Linked DNA regions of Homo sapiens: regions 1 and 2 are each linked to region 3. Evidence: promoter capture Hi-C in human tissues and cell types (Jung and others, 2019). All regions are on one chromosome and are shown on one strand. Each heading gives the region's core, a stretch centred on a gene start or on the middle of the fragment in contact. The rest is flanking DNA. Distances are from core to core; before and after follow the strand shown. Region 1 holds the start of DOC2A (double C2 domain alpha). Region 2 holds the start of TAOK2 (TAO kinase 2). Region 3 has its middle 4.4 kb from the start of ZNF771.

What was found. Contacts are between HindIII fragments. The study calls those that stand out against the background at their distance.
Region 1: the fragment with the promoter of DOC2A here is called in contact with a fragment that was not itself captured in region 3 in 5 of the 25 tissues and cell types used here (IMR-90 fibroblasts, dorsolateral prefrontal cortex, lymphoblastoid cells and 2 more).
Region 2: a contact is called between the fragment with the promoter of TAOK2 here and a fragment that was not itself captured in region 3, in 1 of the 25 tissues and cell types used here (dorsolateral prefrontal cortex).

Annotation. Positions count from the first base shown.
Region 1 is chr16:30,009,765-30,012,554 of GRCh38, forward strand. It overlaps DOC2A (double C2 domain alpha), which reads right to left and starts at 1,263. Exons shown (of 11, transcript NM_003586.3): 1 at 1,139-1,263; 2 at 197-471. The coding sequence starts at 458. RefSeq lists a silencer at 1,170-1,229. The HindIII fragment of the contact is 30,604 bases long and covers 1,103-2,790 here.
Region 2 is chr16:29,972,173-29,975,295 of GRCh38, forward strand. It overlaps TAOK2 (TAO kinase 2), which reads left to right and starts at 1,696. Exons shown (of 16, transcript NM_016151.4): 1 at 1,696-2,476. It overlaps TMEM219 (transmembrane protein 219), which reads left to right. Exons shown (of 6, transcript NM_001083613.2): 6 at 778-876. It overlaps LOC124903762, which reads left to right and starts at 1,450. Exons shown (of 2, transcript XM_047435036.1): 1 at 1,450-1,608; 2 at 1,825-2,463. The coding sequence starts at 1,450. The coding sequence ends at 2,463. RefSeq lists a silencer at 1,386-1,755 and enhancers at 2,179-2,950, 2,657-2,786. The HindIII fragment of the contact is 10,689 bases long and covers 1,133-3,123 here.
Region 3 is chr16:30,401,831-30,404,594 of GRCh38, forward strand. No RefSeq gene overlaps it. Among named protein-coding and RNA genes, the nearest start is that of ZNF771, 4.4 kb to the right of the region's middle. The HindIII fragment of the contact is 5,860 bases long and covers 1-2,764 here.

The DNA of each region.
Region 1 (2,790 bases), core at 13-2,512, 390 kb before region 3:
AATACTGAATATTGAGCCTTGCTGAAGCTGTAATCTCCACGCTGACTGCAGCTGTGGTGGCCGTCCCTGCCACCCCCCCACTGCCCTCCTCCCCTACCTACATGCACAGCCAGCAGGGCCCATCCCCCTCTCCCCCCACCACGGCAAGCCTGGAGACCCCCACCAGCACATGGGGCCTCCAAGCCCCCAGACTCACTGGCATCATCCGAGTCATAGCTGTCCACCTCCGCACCATCCTCAGGCGTGGTGGCCCCAAGGAGGGCTGCAGGGGGGGCCAGAGCCAGGGGGACCAGATGGGCGGGGGCCTCCCCGCCGCCCCCGCCGCCCCCTTCAGGTCCTGGTCCCCGGGGGAAGTAGTCAGAGATCTGGCGGATGGGCCGGATGGGCCCGGGGCACACGTTGATGGCCATGTGCTCCTGGATGTTGATGGTCATGCGATCGCCCCTGCGGCCCCTCATGCAGCACCCCTGGCTAGGAGAGGGCGTGTGAGCCAGTGAGCCCATCATACCTAGCCATCCTGGCTGAGGGCCAGGCGACGGCCTCCTCGGTCTGTGGGGCCCTCACTGGCCTCCCTTCCTAGGTGTCGAGGGAGAGGGTGGTGTGTGCCAGCCGGTGGCAGGTGGGAGGCCTGGGCCCTGCAGACCCCAAGCTGACTCCACAGGGGCTGGGCTGCCAACCCACTCCTTGCAGAAGTCGAGGTTGCACCACCCCGTCCTCACCCACCCACTTCTAGGTTGTCCCTGTATCATCTTGCCAGCTCCTTCCTCTCCTCCGGGGCTCCCCTCTGCTCCTGAGCCTGCCTGTCCCCCAAGGGGCCCTGCAGGGCCCCGCCTCTGTTTCTCGGAGGCTCTGTCCTCCTCTGCACCAGGCGCTGGTCTAGTCAGGGTGTCACCCACCCCTCTAGGCTCCAACTGCCCACTGTCCCCTCATTCAGCCCCAGGACCTGTCTGCCTGCCTGGTTCCCCCGCTCGCTCACCACAGCCCACGGTGGAGACCCCAGCCTCAGATGCCACCTCTGGCTCCTCAGGGGAGCCAGAAATTGCAGCCGCAGGAGAGCCGAACACCCCCGTAGCGCACACAGGCTGGCACGCTTCCCCGCACCCTCACGCCCCCGGCCTGCCCAGCCCCCTGCACCTGCCTCTGCCTCCAACAGGTGCCCAGGCACTGGGGGGACGGCGGGCGCAGGCTGGGCGGCGGCGGCCGGCGAGGAGAGCGCGGAGTCGAGCTGTGCGAGCCGAGAGGGAGGGAGCGCCGAGAAAGTGCGGGGAGGAGGGGGTGAGCGAGGTGGAGGCGAGGATGCAGCCGGCGCGGCGGCGGGGGACGGGGAGGGGCGCTGGGGCTGGGGAGGGGGCGGGATCTCGGACTCCCACCCGGGGCCCGCTCGGGAGCGCACGCGAGCGCGCACACACACGTGTGCTCGCGCGCGCACACTCACGCAGGGGCACGCGGACCGGCACACACTCGTGTGCACACATCCAACCGGGCACCCCCGCGCGCACACGCCCGTGCCCACGTGTGCACGCTCACACCCTTGCACACACCCAGGCGCGCGCTGGCACACTTACCCGGAGAACTTCGCACACACACGCACTCGCAAACACGCGGGCTCCCTGCGCCACCAGGAAGCAGCCGCCAGAATCGCCGGGTGTTCCCCAACTACTCCTGGGAGACCTGGCCCCCCGCCCCCGCCCGCGCGCGCGGCCACGGCGCCTCCCTCCCTCCCGGGTCCCCAAGGCCGGACCACCGGCCTCGTTGTCATGGCGACGCCGGCTCATCTCCCCCCACCCCCGCGCGTCTTCACGCCCCTCCCCCGCAGGGAGCTGGGGCCTCCCTCCTCCCTTCCCCACGTCCGTAGGGACCCACAGGTTGACAGGAGCAGGGGGTCGCCTGCTGTCACCGGCCGGGGATCTCGGGGTCTCCCGAGCCAGGCTGGGGAGCCTCACGATCTGAGGGAGGAGGCAGAGGTCTGATGCTGCGGCTTCCCCCACGCCCCCTCCCTTTGGCCGTTCAGGCCTCTCTCCTTGTGGCCCAACCCAACTCCCAGGGGCCCATGTCCCCTTACCAGGGATGGTATCTCCTTTGGGAACCACCCTCCCCCCTGCCATCCCCAGTTCTGCCCCGCAGGTGGGAAGGGGCGTCGGGGCTTGGCTCTGAAGGTCTCAGAGCCCTGCGGTAGTTCCCCATGGGCTGCCATTTCTCACCCAAACCTTGCCACCCCCAAGCCGCCCCCCTGCCCGGCCCTGCGCCTGCCACGGAGTGTCAGTCCACCCCTGGCCTTCGGTCTTCACTCACCTGTGCCCCAAACTTACCATCCCGAAGACACGAAGGGGCTTATCACCCTCGCTGCCCACCACTGACTCACCCAACCGTTTCCTGCAGTTCCTGGGACACACCTAGACGGCTCAGGCCTAGGGATCTTGGCTCACATGCGCTCCTCTACCTGGGAACCGCGCTTCCTTAGGAAGTCACCGTGGGTCCCCTCTTCCTAGGAGCCTTCCTGGGGCATCCCGCACTGCCCCTCAGCTCCAGCGCCGTCAGGACTCGGCTCAGCACCGCTTCGCCAGTGCCTCCCCCACCAGCAGGGAGTTCCACTGGAGCGGCTGATTCATCTGGGAGTCCCTAATGTCCCAAACTGGGCCTGGCACGAAGTCGGCATCTCTAAGTGCTGTTATTTAAAACAGCAATCTGGTTGCACGACAACTGAACATACCTAACACCACCTAATCTTACCCTTAAAAATGGTGAAGATGGTACATTTCGATATGCGTATTTCACGGCAATTTTTTTTTT
Region 2 (3,123 bases), core at 446-2,945, 430 kb before region 3:
TCCTGAATATGAACCATGTTTGTCTTGCTTTTGTCCTGAAATTCCAATACCCAGTTTTATGATGGAAATTTTGTAAAATTCAACTTGAACCGCTCAGAAGAGTCTAACTGATGATACTCATTTACTGGGGACATAGTATGTGCCCAAGAACTTGACATGCACCTTCTGTCTTCCATTTAGTCATCGTTACCTTTAGAAAAAGCTGATTCCGTTAACAAGATCTTTGGAGGGAATCAGCTTCACAAACGTAGCAGTGGGTGGGGGTCATGTTGGTTAACCAGTTCACACATCAGCTCACTAAAGGAAAAAATATTTCTGCAAAAAATCTTCACTTGTCAGAGGGGGGTGCATGAAATTTGAGAGCCATGTGTTATGCATCCAGCTCTTGAACTGGTCTCAGCTTCAGCTGGCTGCAGTGCCCTAGGAAGTTACTATGGGAAAAGTGGAAATAGTTGAGGCCCAGGGAACTGATCAGGCCAGAGGAAGTGGAAGCTCAAGATCAACTGTGCTTATTTTGCTGATGGCTGGGCCTAAATGCCCCAACCACCTACTTGGGACAGGAAATGACAGGACCCTCTCAACCTTGGACTGGGAAAGGAGGGCTTCCTGGCCCCTGACAGACCCTGGGGTCCTGAGGCTACCTTAGTTGGGATTAAATGCCCGTATTGGTCTCTAGCTGTCACTCCCTCTGCTCCTTCCTCAATTTCTGCACACATCTCAGAGCTTCCTCTAGCAGCTCTTCGACCTGTTTTGTTGTTTTATTTTCTTTCTCCCCAGGTGTGAATCAACTTCTTGGGCCTTGGCTCTGAGTTGGAAAAGGTTTTAGAAAAAGTGAAGAGCTGGAATGTGGGGGAAAATAAAAAGCTTTTTTGCCCAGTGGCGTGTATGGTGTTTATTGGGGGTTGGATTGAGGTGGGGATTTTAGGGTAGGCAGGCTTAGAAGTTTTGGGGGACTCTTTCCTGTTGACTCTCTAGTTTGGACACAGGTTGGCATAGGGCATAGGTTACTTGAGCTCTCCCCATGGTTGACTTGGCTTTGGTAAACACCTGTCTTGTTTTCTTCTACGAAATAAAATGGATAATTACAGTTAGTTGGGCGGGTGGGGTGTCAGGTCATGGAAATGCTGTGACATAAATGCACTGTGACCTTGGCAAGTCTTGCAACCTGCAGCGCCTCAATTTCCGTAAGAGATTTGACCGATTGAGTTTTCCCAGCGTCGACGCGCAAAGATTCCTCGCACTTGGAGGCCCTTTTCCAGGTTAGATGGTTGCTAACCTCGGAGCAGTCTATTTTCCCGCCTTTTCCGCGCCCAGCAGCAGCTTCCTTTGCCCCTCCCAACTTCCACCCTGCGCGCAGTCGCAGATCGCCGCTGCTGTCCGTCCACCCGCGCCCCCTCAAAGCTTCCCCTAGCAACAAGCTCGGGCTCAGAGCGAAGGCGGGGCGAGCGCATGCGCTGCAGCTCTGTCCACCGCCAGTCGTGGGACAGAGTGCCGGGCTCCTCCCCTTGCAAGTCTAGCTCTTCTCCCCGCCTCCTCCGGCCTGGGGTCCGCGTGGCGGGGCGGGCGCGCACTCGGGCTTGGCGGCTGCCGGTCTCCCAGGCCGCGGCAGTGAGGAGAGAGGGCGGGGCTGAGTCCTCTGCGCCCCCGCCCCCTTTAGCCCGGCGTCCCTACCGCGCCTGCGCGCTCCCGCCCGGTCTCCATCTTGGAATTGGGAGGAAGAGGGAGAGGGAGACCGGGACGAGACCGGGGCTGTGGTGCGGAGAGAGGCTGAGACGGAGAAGAGGAGAGGCAGAGAGGGCGCGGGGACCGTCAGCAGCACCTTAGCTACAATCGTTCAGCTATTCTCGGAAGAGAGAAGGGAGAGGGAGGAGGCCGGGGCGGGAGTGGGGGCTGTCACCCTCGGACCCCGGCGTGAGAGGGGCCGTGCGGCCGGACGTCCTCGGGGTGGGCCCCCAGTCGGTGGCCGAAGACCTACAGCTCAGGCCCCTGGGTCCCAAATTTCCAGGCTTTGCCCCTCCTCCTTTCTCAGATACCCGGGTAACAGTCCTCATAGTCCAGATATCCGGGACTCGGGTCCCAACCTCTCTAAACCTGGGTCTCTGTTTCATAGAATTTCAAATATCAGGTTCAGGCCCCTGCGTGCACCAGTATCCGGGGTTCATTCCCCGGGCGTTCAAATATCGGATTCAGTCTCCATCCCGTTCAGATATTCGGGGTTCAGACCCCACAATCAGAAATCCGGAATTCGGCAGCTGTCGCCCTCGACGAGGGGGAGGACTGGACCGCGAGGTCAGATTAGGTTGTCACCCCCTCCCCTCCAGGGGAGGCTTCCCGGGCCCGCCCCTCAGGAAGGGCGAAAGCCGAGGAAGAGGTGGCAAGGGGAAAGGTCTCCTTGCCCCTCTCCCTGCTTGGCAGAGCCGCTGGAGGACCCCAGGCGGAAGCGGAGGCGCTGGGGCACCATAGTGACCCCTACCAGGTGAGACACGGGGTGCAGGGGCGCGGGTCCCTGTGTCTAGTTCTGAGAAGAAAGGGTGCGCCTTTCTGAGAAGCTGGACTTGGGTAGGCCCTCTCAGGATGGGGAAGCCCAGCTGAGCGAGTGGTCAGCCTCTGGCTAGCCTTGCCTTCTGTTGCCACCCCCTTCCCCTTCCTCTTCCCTTCATTGTGTCTGGTTGGTGGGGGACCTCAGGTGACAGGGTCTCTGATGTCACCGGCGTTCACACCCTAGGGTGCTTCAGCTAATCAGATGGATTTGCACTTCAGTCTTCTCTCCTTCACTTTGCCCCTCACAGCCACCTCTCCTCCCTGATATGTCCCGTTCTCCTGGCTATTCTGTGGTTTTGATTCCCATGCCTCTGATTCCCATGGTGGGTCTGCTTATCTGCTTTTCAGGCCTGGTCTGGTTGGATTTCTTGTCCTTGCAAGGAAGTGTGTGTATATGTGTTTGTGTGTATGCGTGTGTGTGTGTGCTTGGAGGTGCCTGGCAATGTTTTCCCCCAGCTGCAGTTACCTTCCAACCTCTTGCTGTGATGGTGTCAATAATCTCATCCATTTGTCAAACGATCTGTCTTTTACAAAGTGCTTTGACAGCCATTCTCTCATGTGACATCCCCGCATTCACCCTGT
Region 3 (2,764 bases), core at 130-2,629:
CTGACCCTCGTCTGGGTTAGTTACAATCCCCTTCTCTGAGCAACCCGTCTCTGAGCACCTAACACATGAAGAGCTTCTTGAGGATAGTTACTCACTCAACAGCTGCACCTATTGTGTGCTGCATACTGGGATAGAAAGATAAACAAGACAAAGTCCCTGACCTGTTTTTATGCGGGAGATAGACATTGAACAAATAATTACAAGTGAGGTGAGAAATGTCCAGCAAACCTATGAGCTGGAAAGAATCCTCTGTGATCCAAAGGCCTTTCCAGGCCAGGTGTGGCTCAGGCCTGTCATCCCAGCATTTTGAGAGGTTGAGGCAGGAGGCCAGGAGGCCAGGAGTTCGAGACCAGCCTGGGCAACATAGTGAGACCTCTCTACAAAAAATACAAAAATTAGGTGGAATGCACCTGTAGTCCCAGCAACTCAGGAGGCTGAGGTGGGAGGATCGCTTGGCCCCAGGAAGTTGAGGCTGCAGTGAGCCATGATCATGCCACTGCACTCCATCCTGGGCAAAAGAGCAAGATCTTGTCTCCAAAAAACAAAAACGACCCCCGCCACCACCAGAAAATACTGTAATCCCAGCTACTCGGGAGGCTTGAGGCAGGAGGATCGCTTGTGCCTGGGAAGTCAAGGTTGCGGTGAGCTGTGACTGCACACTGCACTCCAGCCTGGGGGACGGAGTGAGACCCTGTCTCAAAATATATATATATATTTCCACAAACTACTGCCTCCTTGCCAATCTGGCAAAGTCCCACTCATCTTTAGTTTTTGTTTGCTTGTTTTTTTTACAGATGAGCTCTCACTATATTGCCCAGGCTGGAATACAGTAGCTATTCACAGGCACATAGTGCACTATAGCCTTGAACCCCTGGGCTCCAGCAGTCCTCCTGCCTCAGCCTCCTAAGTAGCTGGGACCATAGGTGTGCGTCACCACACCTGACACCCACTCATCTTTCAAGGTCCTTCACAGTTACCTTCTCAGTGAGACCAGCACGAAATACCTAATACCCCCGAAAGAGTGGTTCACTTACCCCACTCTTCTCCTGCTAGAACACCCTGTTATCCTTTTCTTATATCACTCATACTGTATATTTAGAGATCTATTTTAAATCAGAAGCTTCTTTTTTTTTTTTTTTTGAGACAGAGTCTCACTTTGTCACCCAGGCTGGAGTGCAGCATGCAATATCGGCTCACTGCAGCCTCAACCTCCCAGGTTCAAGTGCTCCTCCTGCCTCAGCCGCACAAGTATCTGGGACTACAGGCACGTGCACTATTATGCTCAGCTAATTTTCTTTTTTTTGGTGATTTTTGTACAGACGGGGTTTCACCACGTTTCCCAGGCTTGTCTCCAACTCCTGAGCTCAAGCAATCCACCTGCCTCAACCTCCCAAGGTGCTAGGATTACAGGTGAGAGCCACCACGCCCAGCCCACAAGCTGCTGCTGCTGCTGCTTCTTCTTCTTCTTCTTCTTCTTCTTCTTCTTCTTCTTCTTCTTCTTCTCCTTTTCTTCTTCTTCCTCTTCCTATTCCTCTTCTTCTTCTTCTTCCTCCTTCTCCGTCTTCTTTTTTTTTTAAGACAGGGTCTTGCTCTGTTGCCCAGGCTGGAGTGCAGTGGCACGATCTCAGCTTACTGCAACCTCCACCTCCTGGGTTCAAGCGATTCTCATGCTTTAGCCTCCCAAATAGCTGGGATTACAGGCGTGTGCCACCATGCCCAGCTAATTTTTGTATTTTTAGTAAAGACAGGGTTTCGCCATGTTGGCCAGACTGGTCTTGAACTCCTGACCTCAAGCGACTACCCACTTTGGACTCCCAAAGTGTTGGTATTACAGGTATGGGCCATTGCTCCTGGCCCCAAAAACTTATTTTTTTTTTTTTTTGAGACAGAGTTTAAGCAATTCTCCTGCCTCAGCCTCCCAAGTAGCTGGGACTATAGACATGCGCTACCACACTAGGCTAATTTTTGTATTTTTAGTAGAGATGGGGTGTTGGCCAGGCTGGTCTCGAACTCCTGACCTCAGGTGATCCACCTGCCTCAGCCTCCCAAAGTGCTGCGATTATAGGTGTGACCACCGCGCATGGCCCAAAAACTTCTTTACTAGACTATGAGATCCTCAAGAACATGAACTAGATCGTATTGCAAGTAGATACCTGTACATGGTTGCAGGGCAAATCGATGGAGCCCTTTACCTTCTTTTTCCAAGTTCCTATTTAAAACAGCAGGAGGCTCCTTCCAGTAGGGACTTTCACTGCCAGAGACAGGCTCCTGGCTGAGTCTCCTCACTGATTCTCTCTTAATCAGAGCGAGATGCTTTGCTTTCGCTAGAGGTTGGGTTCTGGCCAAGTTTACCCTCTGCCTACCTCTCCTCCATCTCCCTTGCTACATTTCCCCTTGTTCACTCCCTTGGATGCTCAGATCCAGCAACACAAGTCTTCTTCCTATTCCTCAAACACACAAGCTTCTGCCTCAAGGCCTCTGCAGTTCAGTCTCAAACACTCTTCTTCCAGATTTTCAAATGGCTAACCCTTTCTCATCATTCAAGGTTCATCTCAAATATTGTATCCAGGCCGGGCGCGGTGGCTCACGCCTATAATCTCAGCAGTTTGGGAGGCCGAAGCAGGTGGATCACTTGAGGTCAGGAGTTCGAGACCAGCCTGGCTCACATAGTGAAACCCCCTTCTCTACTGAAAATACAAAAAATTAGCCAGGCATGGTGGCAGGCACCTGTAATCATAGCTACTCGGGAGGCTGAGGCAGGAGA